6 separate regions of the Homo sapiens genome follow, and regions 1, 2, 3, 4 and 6 are each linked to region 5. Evidence: promoter capture Hi-C in 16 types of primary human blood cells and fetal thymus (Javierre and others, 2016). All regions are on one chromosome and are shown on one strand. The core of a region is centred on a gene start or on the middle of the fragment in contact, and the rest is flanking DNA. Distances in the headings are between cores, read along the strand shown.

Region 1 (3,211 bases), core at 655-3,154, 790 kb before region 5:
ATTAAATTAGCTTAGTTAACTTATAACTTTAGACCAGGGGTGGCCAATCTTTTGGCTTCCCTGAGCCACACTGGAAGAAGAATTATTTTAGGCCACACATAAAATACACTGATACTAACAATAGTTGGTGAACTAAAAAAAAAAAAAAAAAAAAAAATCGCAAAAAAAATCAGAATGTTTTAAGAAAGTTTACGAATTTGGGCCAGGCGCAGTGGCTCACACTAGTAATCCCAGCTAGTAATCCCAGCACTTTGGGAGGCCGAGGTGGGTGGATCTCTTGAGGTCAGGAGTTCCACACCAGCCTGGGTAACATGGTGAAACCCCGTCTCTACTAAAAATACAAAAAAGTTAGCTGATCATGGTGGTGCATGCCTATAGTCTCAGCTACTCGGGCAGCTGATGTAGGAGAATTGCTTGAACCCCAGAGGCAGAGGCTGCAGTGAGCCAAGATCATGCCACTGCACTCCAGCCTGTGCGACAGAGTGAGACGCTGTCGCAAAAAAATTAACAAAAAAAATTAAAAAAAAAAAAGAAAGTTTACGAATTTGTGTTGGGTATTTAAAGCCGTCTTGGGCCACATGCTGCCCGAGGACTGCAGATTGGACAAGCTTGGTTTAGATAACATCTTCTCTGAGGGTAGGTAGTAGTTACCTAGACTGAGATTTGCCTGTGTCTGCTTGTGTGTGTGTGTGTGTGTGTGTGTGTGTGTGTGTGTGTAGTCTGTATCTCATGTGTGTACATGTGCACCATTTCTTGTATTTCAATATTGGTGTCAGGGAGATAATTTTGCAAATGGCTGGGGATCATTCTTGGTTTGTGTATGTTTAAAGTTGCTTCCTCAGAGAATAACCTCTTCAAAAGGGTGGAGGAAAGGGCTGAAAAACTTCCTATTGGGTACTGTGTTTACTGTATGGGTGACTGGATCAATAGAAGCCCAAACTTCAGCATCACACAGTATACCCTTGTAACAAACCTGCACATGTACCCTCTGAATCTAAAAGAAAAAGAAAAAACAAAGAGAGTAACTTCATCAATTTTGGATGTGTCTTGTTTTGGCTACTGTGTCTTCACTATATTAACTACTGAAATTCTGGTTTGTTGAGAGAATGAATACTCAGTTAATATTTGCTTACTGCCAATGGATACTCCTTTTATTTCGTTCTGAGACTTCAGTCCACAGTTTACTCTTTTACCCTATGGGGCATGAGAAACCCAAATGCCGAATTTAGTAGCCTTAAAAATAAGGACAAAGTTAAGAAAGAGATCTTTTAATAAGCCTTGAGAAGTAGAGGTGTTGCTTGGTGGTCAGGATGTGGTATGCAATTGGCTTACTAGATTCTGCTAACTGAAGTCTTTATATTACGGCAGTGTGGGATAGTGTAAAGGGTGCTGATTTATGTTTGAATTATTTCTCTGCCATTTATTAGTTGTGACTTGGTCACATTAAACATTTCTCTTGGTTTGAATCTGATTTATCTCAGAATTATTATTATAATTCAAATATATTACAACTCAGATATTTATAATAAATAATAAAACATTCCTCCACATGGCCCTAGCCTCATAACAAATGTTTCCTTTAGCAAAAAGAAATTTTGTGATTAAAGCATTCCTTTCACAGTACATTCAGAGGAGCAGCAATCAGATAATTTACTACAAGCTGTAAAATTAAATTATAATCACTAGAACCAGTTATTGTTAACATAGTTCATTCTGTGTAATCTCTCTCAACAACCTCCTCCTACACATATAACACAGTGGGGAATGGTGTTGATGAGCATGTAATCCTATCAGAGTTGCTGACTACCATAGACCACCAATGATCCATCTTGTATTTGGTTTAGGAATAAAAGCATGTTGTTTGAACAAGAATTTTAGGGTTTTGGCCAGGCGCAGTGGCTAACACCTATAACCCCAGCACTTTGGGAGGCCGAGGTGGGCAAATCACTTATGAAGGTGTCTGAAATTGCTTGAAGGTGAGAACTGCTCAAACCAGGAAGGTGGAAGTTGCAGTGAGCCGAGATCGTGCCGCTGCACTACAGCCTGGGTGATGATGGAGCGAGACGCTGTCTCCAAAAAAAAAAAAAAAGAAAGAGAGCGAGAGAGAGGGAGCCAGTTCTGGTATCTTTTTTTTTGGAAACAGAGTATCACTTTGTTGCCCAGGCTGGAATGCAGTGGTGTGATGTTGGCTCACTGCAACCTCCGCCTCCTGGGTTCAAGCAATTCTCTCGCCTCAGCCTCCCAAGTAGCTGGGATCACAGGTGCATGCCACCAAGCCCGGCTAATATTTGTATTTTTAGTAGAGATGGGGTTTCACCATGTTGGACAGGCTGGTCTCAAACTCCTGACCTCAGGTGATCCTCCTGCCTCAGCCTCCCAAAGTGCTGGGATTACAGGCGTGAGCCACCACGCCCGGCCCCTGTTATCATATTAAACATCCTGTGATTGGCACACACAGAGCTGACTTTATTCTTTTTAATATATGCAAAATATTTCAAATCTAGAAATACTTTAATTTCTTTGATCAGTCACCAATTGATGGCTGTTTAGTTAAATACCTTTTCAGTTAATTTACCTTGTTCTTTAAATTTGGTGATTCTAAATTGGCCCATATTTATGAAGGTGTCTGAAAGTGATTACAATTTCCTACTTTACTTTTGTGCCCTGTTAGAAATACTACGCTACCTTATTGTTAAAGAACAGACATCATAATTTTACTCTAACTTCAGTTTTCTATTTCGTTTAATGAAAGCCCCTAGTTTTTTTGTTTGTTTCCTTTATTTTTTTGGAGACAAGATCTCGCTCTGTTGCCTAGGCTGGAGTGCAGTGTGGTGTGATCATGGCTCACTGCAGCCTCAATTTCCTGGGCTCAAGAGATCCTTCCACCTCAGCCTCCCGAGTAGCTGGGACTACAGGCGTGCACCGCCATGTCTGGATAATTAGACAATTTTTTTTTTTTTTTTTGTAGAAATGGGCCCTTACTATGTTGCCCAGGCAAGTCTCGAACTCCTGGGCTCAAGCCATCCTCCTCCTGCTTTGGCCTGCCAAAGTGCTGGGATTACAGGTGTGAGCCATTGCACTGCGCCCCCTAGCTGTAATACACAATTTATAAGTTATTGTATAAAATTTTACATGAAGCTCATGTAAAATAATCTTCAAAATGAGAACACTTTTAGATCTTTAATATACTTGAAGCTTTTCTAGGAGTGTA
Region 2 (2,941 bases), core at 43-2,542, 660 kb before region 5:
CGGCCTCCTAAAGTGCTGGGACTTGACTAGCTTCATAGATCACCTTGGGGAGTGTTGAGGAGACAACATAACTTTCTAGCTGGGGTAGTGTAGGAGGAAAATTCTTGGTGACGATAGTGGAAACCACTCTCCCACATCAAAACCATTTGATCTAGCTAAGCTGGAGAGGCCTGAGAAGTGTTGTTTTGTTTTTGCTCATTTCTCACTTGGCAATAAAGACGCCTGTTCTGGGGCCAGCCACCTCCTCCACAAGGGACCCTAGAGCTGTCCAGAGCTATGGAGGTGCATTCCAGCAGCAATTTCTGCTGAGACTCCACTTGACGTCTGCGTTGCTAATTCCAATTTGTTGTCAAATTATTCAATCTAGGCTGGGCGTGGTGGTTCACACCTGTAATCCCAGCACTTTGGGAGGCTGAGATGGGAGCATCATTTGAGCCCTGGAGTCGGAGACCAGCCTGGGCAACATGGTGAGACCCTGTCTCTACAAAAAATGCAAAAATAGCCGGGCGTGGTGGCTTGCGTCTGTAGTCTCAGCTACTCACTCAGGAGGCTGAGGTGGGAGTATCGTTGAGCCCAGGAGGTGGAGACTGCAGTGAGCCGTGATTGCACCACTGCACTACAGTCTGGGCGACAAAGCGAGACTCTGTTGGGGAAAAAAAAAAAAAAAAGAAGAAAGAGATGTAACCTTGGAAAATCAAAAGCAAAAAATAAAACATAAGGCTGGGCCAAAGGCAGAGGGGTGGGGGAAGGAGGCATGCAGAAATGCGTTCTCATTTCTTCTGGAGAATGTGCATTGGTTTCTCCTCGTAAGTTTGCACTTGACACATATTGCCACGATCTCCGAAATCCTGTGCCCTCTGCACTTGACACATATGCCACGATCTCCGAAATCCTGTGCCCTCTGTTGTTGCATCTGTTAAGTTCTCATGGAGACCAGATGGCACCCAAAGGGACATGGAAGGGGAATAAACTGAGAGATAGGGAGATTCAGAGAGTTTCTTAGGGGAGTTTTCTCGGAGAAGAGGCTTTCAGCATCTTAAAACTCCACGCTACTCCAGTCCCAGTCATGCGTAAAGGCTGCTTCCCCACAGGCGCGAGGCTTCTTTTCGCAAACGTCCTGAACACTCAGCCAGACTCCCACCGACATTTGTTTGACAGGAACGCAGGGCTCGTCCCAGTCGCCGAGATTTGCGAGGTCTGGGCCTTGCACATGCGCATGGAGCACACTTGACCACTGGGCCTTCGTGCGCACGCGCGTGGACCTTGCCATCTGAGGTGCGCATGCGCACTTGTGTCTAGCGGGATCGCTTGCTTGGTAACCCGGAGGGAGAGATTGGAAACCGCGGAGTTTCCTTTGGGAGGCTGCGGCCAGCCGGGGCTGACTTGTTATGTTGGGCTCCGGAGGCCGTTAAGAGCCGAGAGAGACATGAGGTGTCTCTGAAGCCCGGTCGCCTGGGCCATGAAGAAGATTTTTAGTAAGAAGGGCGAGTCGCCCTTGGGCTCCTTCGCGCGGCGGCAGAGGAGCAGCGCGGGAGGCGGGGGCGAGCCGGGGGAGGGCGCCTACTCGCAGCCCGGCTACCACGTCCGAGACCGAGATCTCGGCAAGATCCACAAAGCTGCCAGCGCGGGTAATGTGGCGAAAGTGCAGCAGATCCTTTTGCTCAGGAAGAATGGCTTGAACGATAGAGACAAGATGAACAGGTAATAGGCGTCGCAAGCCCGGACTGAGTGCCACTGGAGTAGGCGGGCAGGAAGAGGGGCCCCTTTTGTGGGAGCCACCCAGGGCCTGGATCAGCCTCCCGCGGGCTCCGTAGCCCCTGGGACGGTGACACCTTGCAGGGCTCCAGCGCCCAGGCCGCCTTTCTGAGCAGAAAAACAAAAACAGAACTCTAGCTGGTTTCCGATCCCCCCGAAATCCCTTAGAGAGCACTTAAGTGACAATTTTAAAGTGAATTAACGAACAAAAGCACGTACAGCGTTTTATTTTTAATGTACACATTTAAGATACAATGTCATACACTTATGGAAAGGTGCATAATGAGATAAGCAGTTTCCATAATATAGCAACTTCTGGGTTAAAAATTATTTCTATAAAATCTGTTATTCGTCAGGCGCGGTGGCTCGCGCCTGTAATCACAGCACTTCGGGAGGCTGAGGCGGGAGGATTGCTTGAGGCCAGGAGTTCAAGGCCAGCCTGGGCATTATAGCGAGACCCCCCCCCCCAACTCTAATAGTCTCAGCTACTTGGAAGGCTGAGGCAGGAGCATCACTTGAGCCCAGGAGTTCTAGGCTGCAGTGAGGTATGTCAGTGACAACAGAGCAAGACCCTATCTTTCAAAAAGAAAAAGAAATAAAATGCCTTTAGGAAATAGATATACAAGTAATTTGTTTTTCTCAGCATTGCTTAAGCAGTGTATTAAGGAGAACCCATAGAATGGATTTTGTGAATAAATGTCAGTGCATGATAATATGTGACCATTGAAAGTGGCAGTAGAGGCCAGGCGTGGTGGCTCGCGCCTGTAAACCCAGCATTTTAGGAGACCAAGGCAAGCGGATATCCTGAGGTCAGAAGTTCGAGACCAGCTTGGCCAACATGGTGAAACCCCGTCTCTACTAAAAATACAAAAATTAGCTAGGCATGGTGGTGGGAGCCTGTAATCTCAGCTACTCCGAAGACTGAGGCAGGAGAATCGCTTGAACCTGGGAGGCAGAGGTTGCAGTGAGCCAAGATCGTGCCATTGCACTCCAGCCTGGGCAACAAGAGCAAAACTCTGTCTCAAAAAAAAGAAAGAAAGAAAAGAAAGTGGCAATAGATACAGAAGTGTATTGGCATGTGAGGATATACTTTGGTATCTCAAGTGAGAAAAAAAGTTTGATTATACATACAGACTGTGGTCTTGTGTTAGCTGAAAATATGTACAAAACGTGGTAAAATTTGGCC
Region 3 (3,261 bases), core at 290-2,789, 820 kb before region 5:
TCCTGCCCAGAATGACATTTTACTGTAATTTGCAACCTTCTTAAGAGTTAATGTGAGAGAGGTAGGAATAAGTGAGAGTCTTTCTGCCTTTTTATCTAAATTAGTTACCGGAAGAGTCTAGCAGTAAAATTTAAAACAAATTCAAGTGAAACAAACTTCACATTGGCTAAATAGAAATTAGTCTGTAAAAGAAGATCTTTTAAAAAATAACAGTATCTGTAACATTAAATAAGAGCCAAGTTAGAACGCAACTTCTGACTTTAATTTATAATGAACATTTAAGGCTTTTTTTGCAGATAAGCTATATTTGTTTCCTTTGTCATTGTAATAACACTTGTTGATAAAATATTTCTTCCATAATGTTAGATGAATGGTTATACAATTAAAAATAGAATAAAATTAGGTTTTTTCCGATCATTATATTTTTACAAAGGCTCAAAGTACAAAGATTAGACTTGGAGATTTTACATTCTGCACTGTATTAAATCTTAGAACTATCTATTAAATTCAATCACAGGAGATCATTGGATCACAACAGGGCAGTACTTTCTGCTGATAGAGTATAGAAATATTATAGAGATGTCTAGTTACCAACACGATAGGAAAGGGGGCATTATCAGCCTTTAGTGATGAGGACCAAGGATGTAAAATACCCTTCTGTGCAGGACAGTACCTCAGAAGGAAGAATTCTGCTGTAACCTCCAGGTATCTGATAAGTGAAAAGCTTCAGATAAGCACTACCTGAGCCTAGAGTTTTTCTACACTTTGCAAAAATCGCAAAGTATTTTGTCACAGTTTTATTATACCCTGAATTTTCCAGAATTGTAGCTTTCATAAATGAAAGGAAGGTAGTACATACTTTGTTTTACATGGAATTTTACCAAGACATCATTGATAGCAAGGTTATTTGAGAAATTTAAGTTGCAATGGCACGTCTGTTACCAGTCTGCATTTGGGGCTGCTGTGTTTACAGTAATTCTGTGTAAGGCTGGACATCTGACTACTTCCTTATATACTCTAGCGTAGTGGTAACTCAAGCGTTTACATGCTGATATTTTATTACAATTATTTTCTTTATAGTTAGCACGCTATTGATATTGAAAACTTTATTAAATATGTACGATTATAATCTATGATCTTGATTTCAGGATCGTAAAGCAGCATTACAAAATTTTGTTATAAAAACCGAGTACTGGATCAGATAGGGTCGAGAACAACTGATCCAGACATATATACCAAAGTGTTCATGAAATAAAGCGTAGAAGTTAGTGCACGAATTTGTTCTGGGCGTTTGTTTTAGTATTCCAGCATTTTGTTTCTATTGCTAACTGATGAGAAATGCTTTAAACACATAAACATGTTCTGATGTGTATGTGTGAGACTTGCGTTTCCCAACGTTGCATAAAATAAGCACAAATAAGTGTAAAATAGTGTAAAATAACTGCAAATAGCTTTATCTTACACAGAAAGACAGGTGAACAGCTCGTCTTTAATCTTAAGCATAACATTTGTTTTGGTAATCTTATAAAGATTGCTTCTTGCACATTTTTAAAGAAAAAATGTGAAATTAAACAGATTATTAACGCTATACTAGTCAATATACCATATAGTAACTTCTTGAAGGACCCTTAGCACAGAACTAAGAAATGCAAAATCGTTCTTATTTCCGTCAAGATAAATTTTGACAGAAATGTAGCATTTGAATCTACTCAAATTGTATTTCCAAGTCCAGTGAACGGTAGCAATGCACAGTTTTATTAAAGAAGGTTGGTCAGCTTAAGAAAACCTCAGGGTGAGGCCGGGCGCGGTGGCTCACGCCTGTAATCCCAGCACTTTGGGAGGCCAAGGCGGGTGGATCACGAGGTCAGTAGTTCAAGACCAGCCTGACCAACATGGTGAAAAGCCCGTCTCTACTAAAAATACAAAAATTAGCCAGCTTGGTGGCGCGCGCCTGTAATCCCAGCTACTGAGGAGGCTGAGACAGGAGAGTCATTTGAACCCAGGGAGGTGGAGGTTGCAGTTAGCCGAGATCGCGCCACTGCACGCCAGCCTATGCGACAGAGTGGACTCCATCTCAAAAAGAAAAAAAAAAAAAAAAAACCCTCAGGGTGGCCTATGACAATCCAGAAGGCAAGTTCAATGTTATTAGAAAATAAATAAATGGTGTTCCAAAATGGTCGGTATAACTCAAAACTAAGATTTTAAAATCAAAAGCAGTTGCTCCCCAGTTCCTACCCATTGCCAATCCATTAGCTCTTTTGGCTTAAGAACCATAGTTAAAATGAATCCATGTAAATAGCACATACCTTTGAAGTAAAGAAAATAAGTTTAAAGATTAAAAAGGAAAAAGCTTTGATTACGTGTTTACATAAACTGGGAATCAGTTAACACTCATTTTTCTCTCTATCCAATAGATACCATAGATTGTTTTTCTTTCTAATGGTCAATTTTAAGCTTCCAGCATCATTAGTGAAATAAAACCCATTCGGGAATCATGTCGTTAACACTTATGCAGAAGCACGACCGAATTCTTTAGGGGGCTATGGAAAGGCAGCCATCAGCTCTGAGATCTATGAATGTGATTGGTAACATCCACCGGGAGTCCGCGCATACACGGCTTTCTGAGAATGCAGAAGTTACTCAGTAAGACCTACAGAAAATCGAACTTTTAGAACTGGCATGAACAGGGCCCTAAGTAAAATCAAAGCTAAGCCTAGTGTGGGATGACGGCCCCCACCAGACTCGTTACAAGAAGGGGGCGTCAGAGCTGAGACCCTAAGTTTCCAAGAATGGATTCGGTAAAGGGACGAGGTGGGAAGTGACGGCGAACACCACGTTGGGAGCGGGAGGCCGAGCTGCAAGGGCGAAGGAGAAAGATGGGCTCGCGGAAGGAGAGACAGGGAAACAGCGGGGTAAGTGGAGAACCGATCCGGGAGGTGATGGGTCCAGGGTAGTGCAGAGAGGGGCGCAGGGACTGAGGAGCAGACGGTCCCCAACCGAGGGCCGAGGCAGGGTCTCGCGGGGAGGAAGGAGCGAGATGGGCCTGGGAGAGAAAAGGGGAGGGGGCAGGTCTCGGCCCCCGGGAGGGAAAGGGAAGCAGGCGAGAGCAGCAGCGGCGGGGCCGGAGAGCGGCCCCGGTTTCCCGATCTACGCGGCCGGCTGCAGAGCCCCCATGGGGTGGGCCTGGGGACCCCCGGCCGAAGTCACCTGCAGCGCCCTGCCCCGCCGCAGTCGGCGCCCACCTGTTGCTAGGACACCACT
Region 4 (3,320 bases), core at 401-2,900, 710 kb before region 5:
TTCCATCAGCCTTCTCTCTCATCCAGTCTAGTTTCTTTGTTTGTTTGTTTTATCATTTTTAAATTTTTTGTAAAGACAGGGTCTTGCTTTCTTCACCAGGCTGATCTCGAACTCCTGGCCTGAAGCAGTCCTCCCACCTCAGCCTCTCAAAAGTGTTGGGATTACAGGCTCGAGCCACCATGCTAGGCCAGTCTATCTTCCTTAGTTCTCCATTTTCTTCTATAAGACAGAACTAATCATGTTACTTAGAGAATTAAATTCAAACATGGCTCTTCACAGTTTGGCCATAACCTATCTCTTTAATTTTTTCTTTCCTTGAATTTTTTGAGATATTCCAGACCCTTGGATGGCTTTTTGTTTGCCCCCGTCCCTAAGCCGCCTTGATCATTTTTAATAGCTTAAAAAGTACTTTTAAGTATTTTATTTCATCATGCCTTTAACTGTCTTTTACTATGTGCTGTCATGTTGTATGCTAGGATACGTAGATGAGTAAGGCATGATCTCTGCCTTTGATCCTTACTATTAGGAAATAAGGTGTATTTTATAGTTATGTTAGTATTGAGAAAATGAATTCTAAGAATATGAGTTATAGCTAATTTAAAAAGTACCGTATTCCCAGACATCAGTCCAGAGCTATATAATCCGTGTCCATGCCTCTTTTAAAAAAAACTTTATTTTTAGAGACAGGGTCTCCCCTTTGTAGCCCAGGCTGAAGTGCAGTGATGCTGTCATAGCTCACTGCAACCTCCAGCTCCTGGGCTCAAACATTTCTCCTGAGTAGCTGGTGCTGCGGGTGCATACCACCATGCCCAGCTAATTTTTAAATTTTTCATCAAGATGATGTCTTACCATGTTGCTCAGGCTGGTCTCAAACTCCTGGCCTCAAACGATCTTCCCACCTTAGCTGTTTTGGGTTTGAGTAACATGTAATTGTTACTTGCCTTTAAGTGCCTCTCTTTCAGCTCATGTGGACAAGAAAATAATCCCTATCCTGTTGTTTAAAAGTGGGTATACACACATTTTTGTGATTTTTAGACTTTTTTGCCTGATTTTCACACAGTTTTGACTTTAATTTTCTTCTTTATTAGAAGATATGGGTAACTTTAGAACCTCTGAGTTCAAGGAAGGATCTAAGCAATGAGGCCAGAGGAGTGAGATGTCCTATGGTAACCAAGCATACCATTTCTTTGTCAAGTGGGCTTTTGTTTATGGCTGCTTAGGGGCTTAAAAGCTCCATGGACTGGTGAGGATTATCATTTGAATGGAATTTCCCCAATTCAAGAACCTTACTATTATCCTCCAATCAGTTCTACACTGTTGGGGAAAATCCCCTGGACCTTATATAACATACTTTGTAACCCTGCAGTTAGTTACTCTTACACTCTTGTCATTATAAATGCTTGATCAATAGTTGATAGACTAGCTCTTGATCAGAGTACCCTTGTATGGAGAGAAGGAAAAAATGCCATACATTTCACTTGATTCTGTGAACCATAATGCTTAGGACAGTAGTGGTTTGGGTTTGATTTAAAAAAAAAAAAAGTTTTTCTCATTCATGCTGAAATGTCATCTCTTTATTTAAGGATACCATTAGGAATATAATTTTTTAACCTATGTCAAACCTCATATGACTGATCTCAGTAAAACGAACTGTGAAAATATTTGCATCAATTTATTTTTAAATATTAAAAAAAGGAAATATATTTGTTAGACTTTTAAAATCTGATTGTTTTAACTGATAATATGTACTCCTTAGGTTAAATATCTTGATAATATTAATGCATACCTGGTTGACCCAATCTTTTACAGCCTTCACTTAACTTAAGGGACCTTGGATTATCTGAACTAAAAATTGGACAGATTGATCAGCTGGTAGAAAATCTACTTCCTGGATTTTGTAAAGGCAAAAACATTTCTTCCCATTGGCATACATCCCATGTCTCTGCACAATCCTTCTTTGAAAATAAATATGGTATGTTAATGTGTTTTTTGTTCCAATTAAATATTTTAGCACTATTAATAATTATAGATACCATTTCTTAGCTTTCACAGTAGCGTTTATTGTGGGCTGGGTTCTTTCCTGAAGTGTTTTTTTTTTGTTTTTTTTTTTGCAATTTTTCATATTGAAATAGTACCAGATTTACAGGAAAGTTGCAAAGATAGTACAGAATTTTGCTTCCACTAATTTTGGCATCTTACATAATCATGTTACATTTGTTAAAACTAGGAAATTAACATTGGTACAATAATTTTTTTTTTGAGACGGAGTCTCCTTCTGTCAGCCAGGCTGGAGTGCAGTGGCACAATCTCCGCTCACTGCAAGCTCCGCCTCCCGGGTTCACACCATTCTCTTGCCTCGGCCTCCCAAGTAGCTGGGACTACAGGCGCCCGCCACCACGCCCGGCTAATTTTTTGTATTTTTAGTAGAGATGGGGTTTCACCGTGTTAGCCAGGATGATCTTGATCTCCTGACCTCGTGATCCACCCTCCTCAGCCTCCCAAAGTGCTGGGATTATAGGCGTGAGCCACCGTGCAGGCCTAACATTGGTACCTTATTTTTAACTAAACTACAGACTATTTGAATTTCAACAAAATTTGTTTTCACCAAATCACTAGTTCTCTGCAAGTGTCCTTTTTCTTTTCCAGGATCTGATCCAGCATACCACATTGCATTTAGCAGAATGGGGGGGCGTTGTTTGTTTTAATTTTAGGTGACACACATTTAATTCCAGGAAACATACTTAATCTTTGAGAATACATTGATTAAAAAAACAGTTGTTATCCCTTTTGTGGAATGTCTACATTTTTTTTTACTTGAATCTCATAACAGTATGGTAGTATAATAAGTGGGTTCATACTAGTCTGAAAAGGGATGTCAACTTTATGAGTTTTTCTTTGGATGGCACTTAAACAGGCCATAAAAATCCAGGAACAAAATAGCAGGTTTGACTAGTTTATAATGAAGGTTTGATTTGAAGCTGTCCTTTGCATAAACTTAATTCATTAATTCTTGACCCTTCCTTTGCCTTTATTTCAGTGTAAGGGCATAAAAAACCGTAAGTGTGAGGAAAAAATGAAATGGTTTTGAGCTTGGGGGCTTAGACTAAAAGTTTGCCTCTGCCTAAAGTTGCCTTCTTATAAAATATTTGGCCCATACCAAGTGTTCAATAGAATAAAATTCTTTTTGTTACTATGTTATTATGATTATTCCTACTGCTCTTCTAGTCTGCATATTTACATTTACTCTTAAGATTGTTCCTCATACCACCAGCTGCTTGCTAGGTTTAGGCAGGCAGAGGTATTAGGAAGAGATTTTTTGA
Region 5 (3,249 bases), core at 708-3,207:
ATTTTAAGAACAGACATAATGTAGCCCAATCATCTCACTTTACTGACGTTATCTGAAGTCCAGGGAGAAGTTATGCAAGTTAATCAATATCATCCTTATCTAGATGGGGGAGATATAAGAGCCAGAACCCAGGTCTCCCAAGTGCTGAGAAAAAACCCAAATATTAGTAATTATTAATAGTTTAAGGATTAATAGTTTAAGGACACACATTATTAATAGTTTAAGGATGAAGTTAAATTTCTTAGACCTTTCACAACACACGTTGAGCAGACAGGAAATACCACTAGAAGACTTTATAAAGTATTTCTCAGCAGATCCTTGCTAATTTCGCCAGCCAGCATCATCGTCCTGGCCCATGTGCCACCCATTATTCCAGTGAGGCCAGAGGGAAAATCGCTGCTCTAGGTTTATGAAAAAGGACAAAGTTTTCCTTTCTGAAATTTCTCTCTGGAGACCCAGATTTTAAAATGAATAGTAGCTAGTACCGGCACCTTTGTTTAAACCACGTTATGCCACCAGAAAAAAACATCTGGGGGCATAATAAACTCACGGGCCCTTTTCTTTTGTTACTTTCCTCTAGTACTCCGTCTCGTCAAGGATCACATTAAAAGTTCTTTTGAACCGCTATGCCCTGAGTGTCTAGGAAACACATTTCACGTTCCACAGGGGTATGAACTAAGAAATACCTTAGCAGGAAAGTAAGAGGTACACCGGGCTAGGTCTTTGGTGGAACACCTGCGCAGAGGTTCTTGGAGACATTAGGACACCCTAGTTAGTTTCCTCCATTCTGTAAAAGGCCCTCTGGATATTCATTTCAAGCCAAATTATGAAACTTGTGCCTGGTGTCCAAATCTATCTTTATGGTATTTTAAAATGAAAATGAGAATATTCGGGGGAAAAAGTTATTTTTAAAAAGAGGAAAGAGTTGTCCAAAAGTTTTAGAGGAAGGAAACACTCTAAGATGCATCAGACTGCGAGCCACACTCAAATTCTCACACGGCTGGCATTTAATCCACATCTAATCTTGGCCCCTCAAGAATCCCTCCAGGTTCCGGGAGACTGGGGCTCCCGGACCTGCTGACCTGCTGACCTGCTGACCTGCTGGACGTGCAAGGGTTCATAGCAGTTCCCCGTTTGACCTTGCAGCAATTTCCTGGGCAGGAAATCTGTCAAATCTGTTGCAATAGCTCGGGAAAAAGCAAACCCGAACCCCAAACCCTCACACCCCCACCCTCGCGAGCCGGGTCCAGAGTGGAGATCAGCGGAGGGGACCCTGGGGACCCGCTGCGCTCGAGGGCCACGCCTGGGGGCACGCGTTCACGAGGCCAGATCCTGGAGCTGCCCCCGGCGTCGGACCCGACGGGCTTGACAAACGGGTTCCTGACAGCCCCGAGGGGCCCGTGCTGGCGCTCCCAGGGCTCCCGGGACTGGGAGCGCCACTTACCTCGACTGCTCTGCGGGGCGCTGCGGGGCGCGGGAAGGCGGCGAGACTCCGGCCGGGAAAGCGACGCGCGGTGCAGACTGCCGCACCCGGGCTCCAGGTCGCTGCCCCGGGGAGGAAGTGCTGTCAGCCCTGCCCTTCCCACGCAGCGCGCAGACGTGTGGCGCTATCCGAGCTGCTTTGCTCCGAGGTGCAAGGAAGGCCCCTGGTTAGAGACAGTGGGACAGACAAACATATGCGTAAAGGACTCCGAGTTAGGGGCTGCTTTCTCCAACTCATCGAGTCTGCGCCTGATTTTCTCTCCCCCATCCCACCCCTACTACACAACCACCTTGAAGGGATTTTTATTTTATTTTATTTTATTTTATTTTAATTCTGGGAAACGTTGCGCCTCCCCCTACCTGTGCCGCGCGCGCCCTTCTCTCAGGAGCGTCTCCTGGCGAATGGAACCATTTTGCAGCCTCGACGCAAGAGGGACTAAGGGATTGGGGCCTAGTGATGGTTCCACCAAAGACTGAGAGGCCGCTTTATGTTGCAACGGTCTCCCAAAGTGTTTACTTCAGCACTTTCTGGGCTTCCTCTTTTGGGCCGGTTGTGCAAGGCTTCCCGGCCGCCTGCAGCCCGCCCTCAGGGGACGCGGTGCAGGGCTGGACTGGCAACACGCGCGTCCCGGCCGGAGTTCAGCTGTCTCTCGGGTGGGGGTGGAGGAAGGGCGCGCTGGGCGGAGGCCCTTTCTCAACCATCAGGTTGGTAACCTCACCCTCCTCCCTCCCCACGTTTAACCACGCTCAGTTGGCCGGCCAGGGTGTAGAGGAATAGCACTGTCTTCATTGCTCGTAGAAATCCAAAATGGTCTGAACCCCGTGGAAGAGAATTGAGCAATATCTATTTAACTTATGTATGGATTCGCCTTTTGACCCCGTCATCCCACTTCCAGGAGTGTGTTACGAAGATCTGCTGATGAAAATAAGTAATGCACACGGCAGAGGGCATTCATGGACTCACTATTTGCAACAGCATAGGACTGGCTGGAAATAGCACCTGTCAGTTGGGAGTGGAGTTTCCTGAGAGAAAGTCGCTGGGGAGGTCTGAAAATACAGAAGTTAAAATCAGTTATGATTTGTAAATGCGGTTGAATAACCCTCCCCTTCTCCTCTACAGCTGTGTCTTCAAAGGCTTATATGTCAGGGAAGGTGGTGAAGACATAAAGACAGAAATTAGGTGCATGTGTTAATTAGGCAATTTCAAATAGTTCTGTCATTTATTTAATGAGAAACTATTCGTAAGCACCAACACTTCTAAGAACAATGAAAATAGTTAGAGGAAACAATTTCTGCTCTCATGCATGGTGCATTCTAGTTGGTAGAAAGCAGACAATAAACAAATTAATATTTAACATGTCAAGGAATGTAACTAGTTTTGAAGGAAGTTAAAAGGTGAGGGATAGAGAGTGATGGGCATGGGGATGGGGTTGCTGTATTAATTAGGGTAAATAAACGATAAATAAATAGAAAATATATTTTCTCCTCATGATTTTCTTAATAACAGTTTCTTTTCTCTAGCTTTCTTTATTGTAAAAATACAGTATTTATCTAAATACATATAACATAATATGTGTTAATTGACTGTTTAATATTATCAGTAAGGCTTCTGGTCAACAGTAGGCTATTCGTGGTTAAGTTTTGGGGGAGTCAAAAGACATACATGGATTTTCAATTGTGCAGCAGTTTGGTACTCCTGAAATCTGGCATTGTTCTGTTACAGTAGGTAGCTAGTCAGGCATGAGCAGGGCAGGAGAGGGCTCCTCC
Region 6 (3,248 bases), core at 497-2,996, 690 kb before region 5:
ATTACAGGAAGTTGTTGAATTCTTGAAAAATCCACAAAAATTTACTATTCTTGGAGGTAAACTTCCAAAAGGTAAGATATCTTTTCTTTATCATGATTTGATGGAAAAAACAAAAACAAAGAAACAAACAAAAAAAACCTATATTACTTATTTAATTTTAACTGATTAAAGTTTAAGTCTTAATTGCTATTTTACAAAATAGATGTTCATTCTGAACATACAATTCCATAGCCTTTTTTTTTTGGTAACTGCAAGTTTTTATATACTTTCAAATTTAAAGTTACAAGAATAGTACATAGAATGCTCCTCATACCCTTTACCTAGACTCACAAATTTTTAATATTTAGTTTCCTTTTTAGACCCAGGCTTGAGTGCAGTGATGCAATCATGGCTCGCTGTAGCCACAACCTCCCGAGTTCAGGCGGCCCTCCCAAGTAGCTGAGACCACAGGTACACACCACCATGCCGGCTAATTTTTGTATTTTTTGTAGAGATGAGGTTACTCCATGTTGCCCAGGCTGCTCTTGAACTCCTGGGCTCAAGCGATCCACTCACTTTGGCCTCCTAAAGTACTAGGACTGCAGGCATGAGCCAGCGCACTCAACCTAACTCCATTTTAAAAATCATTCACTTTGTCTCTTTATGTATATATAAATATAAAAATTATTTGTAAATAAATAAATTTTTAACTATTTGAGAGTAAATTGTAAACAATCACCCCAAGTGTGTATTTCCTAAGAATAAGGATATTCTTCTATGTAACTCCAGAATAATATTAAAATTAGGACATTACTGGGTGTGGTGGCTCACGCCTTTAATCCCAGCAGTTTAGGAGGTGGAGGCGGGTGGATTACTTGAGATCAGGAGTTCGAGACCAGTCTGGTCTTGAACCAGGGGCCATTGGAGTTCCAACCAGCCTGGCCAACATGGTGAAACCCTGTCTCTACTAAAAAAAGAAATTAGCTGGGCTTGGTGGCAGGCGCCTGTAATCCCAGCTACTCAGGAGGCTGAGGCAGGAGAATCGTTTGAACCTAGGAGGCAGAGGTTGCAGTGAGCCGAGATTGTTCCCACTGCACTCCAGTCTGGGTGACAAAGCAAGATTCTGTCTCAAAAAAAAAAAAAAAATAGGACATTTAACATACATACAAAACCATTATCAAATTTAGAGTCTATATTCAAATTTCAGCATTTGCTCCAATAGTATCCTTTGTAGTGTTGCCCTGATCCCTACCCACTTCCCCAGTTCAGGACCTAATCCAGGATCACAGGTAACATTTAGGCTTTTATTGTTTTTTTTTTTTTTTTTTTCAAATGAAACAATGAAACAATTCCTTAGCCTTTTGTGAGGGAGTGGAGAGAAGAGGATCTTTCATGATTTTTACAGTTGCAAAGAGTACTTGCCTAATTATTTATAGAATGTTCTCAGTTTAGCTTTGTCTGATGTTTTCTCATGGTTAACATGACTTTTAATGACTTCACAGTATCCTTCTAATTTATGGTTGTATCACAATTTAACCATTTATATTGAATTTTTATATGGTTTCCAGTTTTTTTGCTATTAAGAATAGTGCTGTGTTTCATCTTAATTCAAGGCTTTGCCTGCATGCTTAATTATTTCTTTAGAATAAATTTCTAGAAATGGAATTGCTGAGTTAAAGGATGACACTCCTTTTTAATGCTTGTTTTTATGCTGCCAACTATCTCCACTGAAAATACAGCAGTGTATGAAATTATTTGCAGTAACCTTTGCTAATTTAGGGTACATTTATTAAATCAGTGCTTAATAATGATAACTTTAGCTAATATCACTGGCAAAAGCCTTATCAACATCATGTACTTCCTGATGCTCTAGAAAGGACCCAAGTGATGGCTTATGTGGTGTCCACGCAAAAAGGAATTAAAAAAGAGCACAATCTCAATACAATCATGAGAAAACACTGGAAAAGCCCATATCAGGAGACATTCCACATACCACCTTTACATTTATTTAAACATCACAGAGTGAATGTTTAAAACCATAGAAGTATTAATAGTTACACTCTTCCTCTTTCTAATCACAAGGAGTATTTTAAATTTGTAGAAAATTTGAGTAGTATAAATTTGTAGAAAAATCTTCAGATACCAAGATGTAATCCACAGAAATTAATATGATTTAAACCAGTTAAGTATAACTAAAACATGACAATACTAGGATAGTCTTAAAGCTATTTTTGAGCTTGAGCTTTCTTTAAAATTTTTTTTATGTTAAAATGCAGCAAACATGTATGTAAAGAAGTTTTGTTGCTTTTTAAATGTAATATGTATATTTATAAAAACATATAAATCAGGTAATTCTGTTTTTCTAACGTGAAAATCTTTGGTGTTATGAAAATTTGCAAACATGGAAAACCTTGAAAGAACAGTACAATTAACATCCATATCCTATCCACTTAGACTCAACAATTGTTAACATTCTGTCATATTTGCTTTCTGTGTTATGTGTGTATTTTTCCCCCTGAACATTTGAAAGAAAACTATAAACGTCAACTACTTGACATCTAAAGACTTTCTTGTACATCACCTAAGAATAAGGACAGTGTCCTAAATAAACATAATAACCTTATCCCACCAAAGGAAATTATGCCTATTTCCTTAATATCATGTACTCTCAGTCTTGTTTAAATGTTTTCACCAGATGTCTCTAGAATTTTTTGTTCTTTATGAAAAAGCATCAAATCAGGATTCACTAATTACATTTGGTTGTTTAGTCTTTTAATCTATTTTTACATGAATTTTATCTTATTTAGTGATAAATGGGTTTATATTTTTTTGCCTCAAGATTCTCCCTGTCATGTCTCTTGTTGATATGGAAACAATATTTATATAATACAGGAACATTAATTTTGGACAAGATTCTGAAGTGAACCATTAGCAGAGACAAGTACGGTTTGCTGTGTTTCAAAATATTGGTTATTGGTGTGACCTCAGCCTGAAAATTATATAAATGAATAATTATTTATTTTATAGGTTCATATCGAGGGATTTTTTAAAAATACTTTGAATCATTCTCGTTTTCATTTTCTTTTAGGAATTCTTTTAGTTGGACCCCCAGGGACTGGAAAGACACTTCTTGCCCGAGCTGTGGCGGGAGAAGCTGATGTTCCTTTTTATTATGCTTCTGGATCCGAATTTGATGAGATGTTTGTGGGTGTGGGAGCCAGCCGTATCAGAAATCTTTTTAGTACGTTTTGGTGTATCTTTGATGCAGT

Evidence for each region. Contacts are between HindIII fragments. The CHiCAGO score rates a contact against its expected background, and 5 or more counts as called.
Region 1: a contact is called between a fragment that was not itself captured here and the fragment with the promoter of APBB1IP in region 5, in 2 of 17 cell types (naive CD4 T cells and naive CD8 T cells). The highest score is 6.0, in naive CD4 T cells.
Region 2: the fragment with the promoter of ANKRD26 here is called in contact with the fragment with the promoter of APBB1IP in region 5 in 1 of 17 cell types (neutrophils); the score reaches 5.4 in neutrophils.
Region 3: a fragment that was not itself captured here is called in contact with the fragment with the promoter of APBB1IP in region 5 in 1 of 17 cell types (activated CD4 T cells); the score reaches 6.1 in activated CD4 T cells.
Region 4: a contact is called between a fragment that was not itself captured here and the fragment with the promoter of APBB1IP in region 5, in 4 of 17 cell types (neutrophils, activated CD4 T cells, total CD4 T cells and 1 more). The highest score is 9.4, in neutrophils.
Region 6: a contact is called between a fragment that was not itself captured here and the fragment with the promoter of APBB1IP in region 5, in 1 of 17 cell types (neutrophils). The highest score is 5.5, in neutrophils.

Annotation. Positions count from the first base shown.
Region 1 is chr10:27,223,956-27,227,166 of GRCh38, reverse strand. The region is part of intron 4 of ACBD5 (acyl-CoA binding domain containing 5); the gene reads left to right. Among named protein-coding and RNA genes, the nearest start is that of ACBD5, 15 kb to the left of the region's middle. The HindIII fragment of the contact is 2,587 bases long and covers 611-3,197 here.
Region 2 is chr10:27,098,845-27,101,785 of GRCh38, reverse strand. It overlaps ANKRD26 (ankyrin repeat domain containing 26), which reads left to right and starts at 1,292. Exons shown (of 34, transcript NM_014915.3): 1 at 1,292-1,701. The coding sequence starts at 1,460. RefSeq lists a silencer at 1,446-1,625 and an enhancer at 1,796-1,855. The HindIII fragment of the contact is 14,700 bases long and covers 1-2,941 here.
Region 3 is chr10:27,259,009-27,262,269 of GRCh38, reverse strand. It overlaps the pseudogene ODAD2P1. Among named protein-coding and RNA genes, the nearest start is that of ACBD5, 20 kb to the right of the region's middle. The HindIII fragment of the contact is 1,626 bases long and covers 727-2,352 here.
Region 4 is chr10:27,144,080-27,147,399 of GRCh38, reverse strand. It overlaps YME1L1 (YME1 like 1 ATPase), which reads left to right. Exons shown (of 19, transcript NM_014263.4): 3 at 1,810-1,972. Among named protein-coding and RNA genes, the nearest start is that of YME1L1, 8.6 kb to the left of the region's middle. The HindIII fragment of the contact is 3,780 bases long and covers 1-3,320 here.
Region 5 is chr10:26,437,049-26,440,297 of GRCh38, reverse strand. It overlaps APBB1IP (amyloid beta precursor protein binding family B member 1 interacting protein), which reads right to left and starts at 1,957. Exons shown (of 15, transcript NM_019043.4): 1 at 1,843-1,957; 2 at 1,445-1,646. RefSeq lists enhancers at 1,624-1,703, 2,264-2,393, 2,111-2,640. The HindIII fragment of the contact is 5,297 bases long and covers 1-3,249 here.
Region 6 is chr10:27,123,519-27,126,766 of GRCh38, reverse strand. YME1L1 (YME1 like 1 ATPase) reads left to right here. Exons shown (of 19, transcript NM_014263.4): 9 at 1-71; 10 at 3,068-3,220. Among named protein-coding and RNA genes, the nearest start is that of ANKRD26, 25 kb to the right of the region's middle. The HindIII fragment of the contact is 4,704 bases long and covers 1-3,248 here.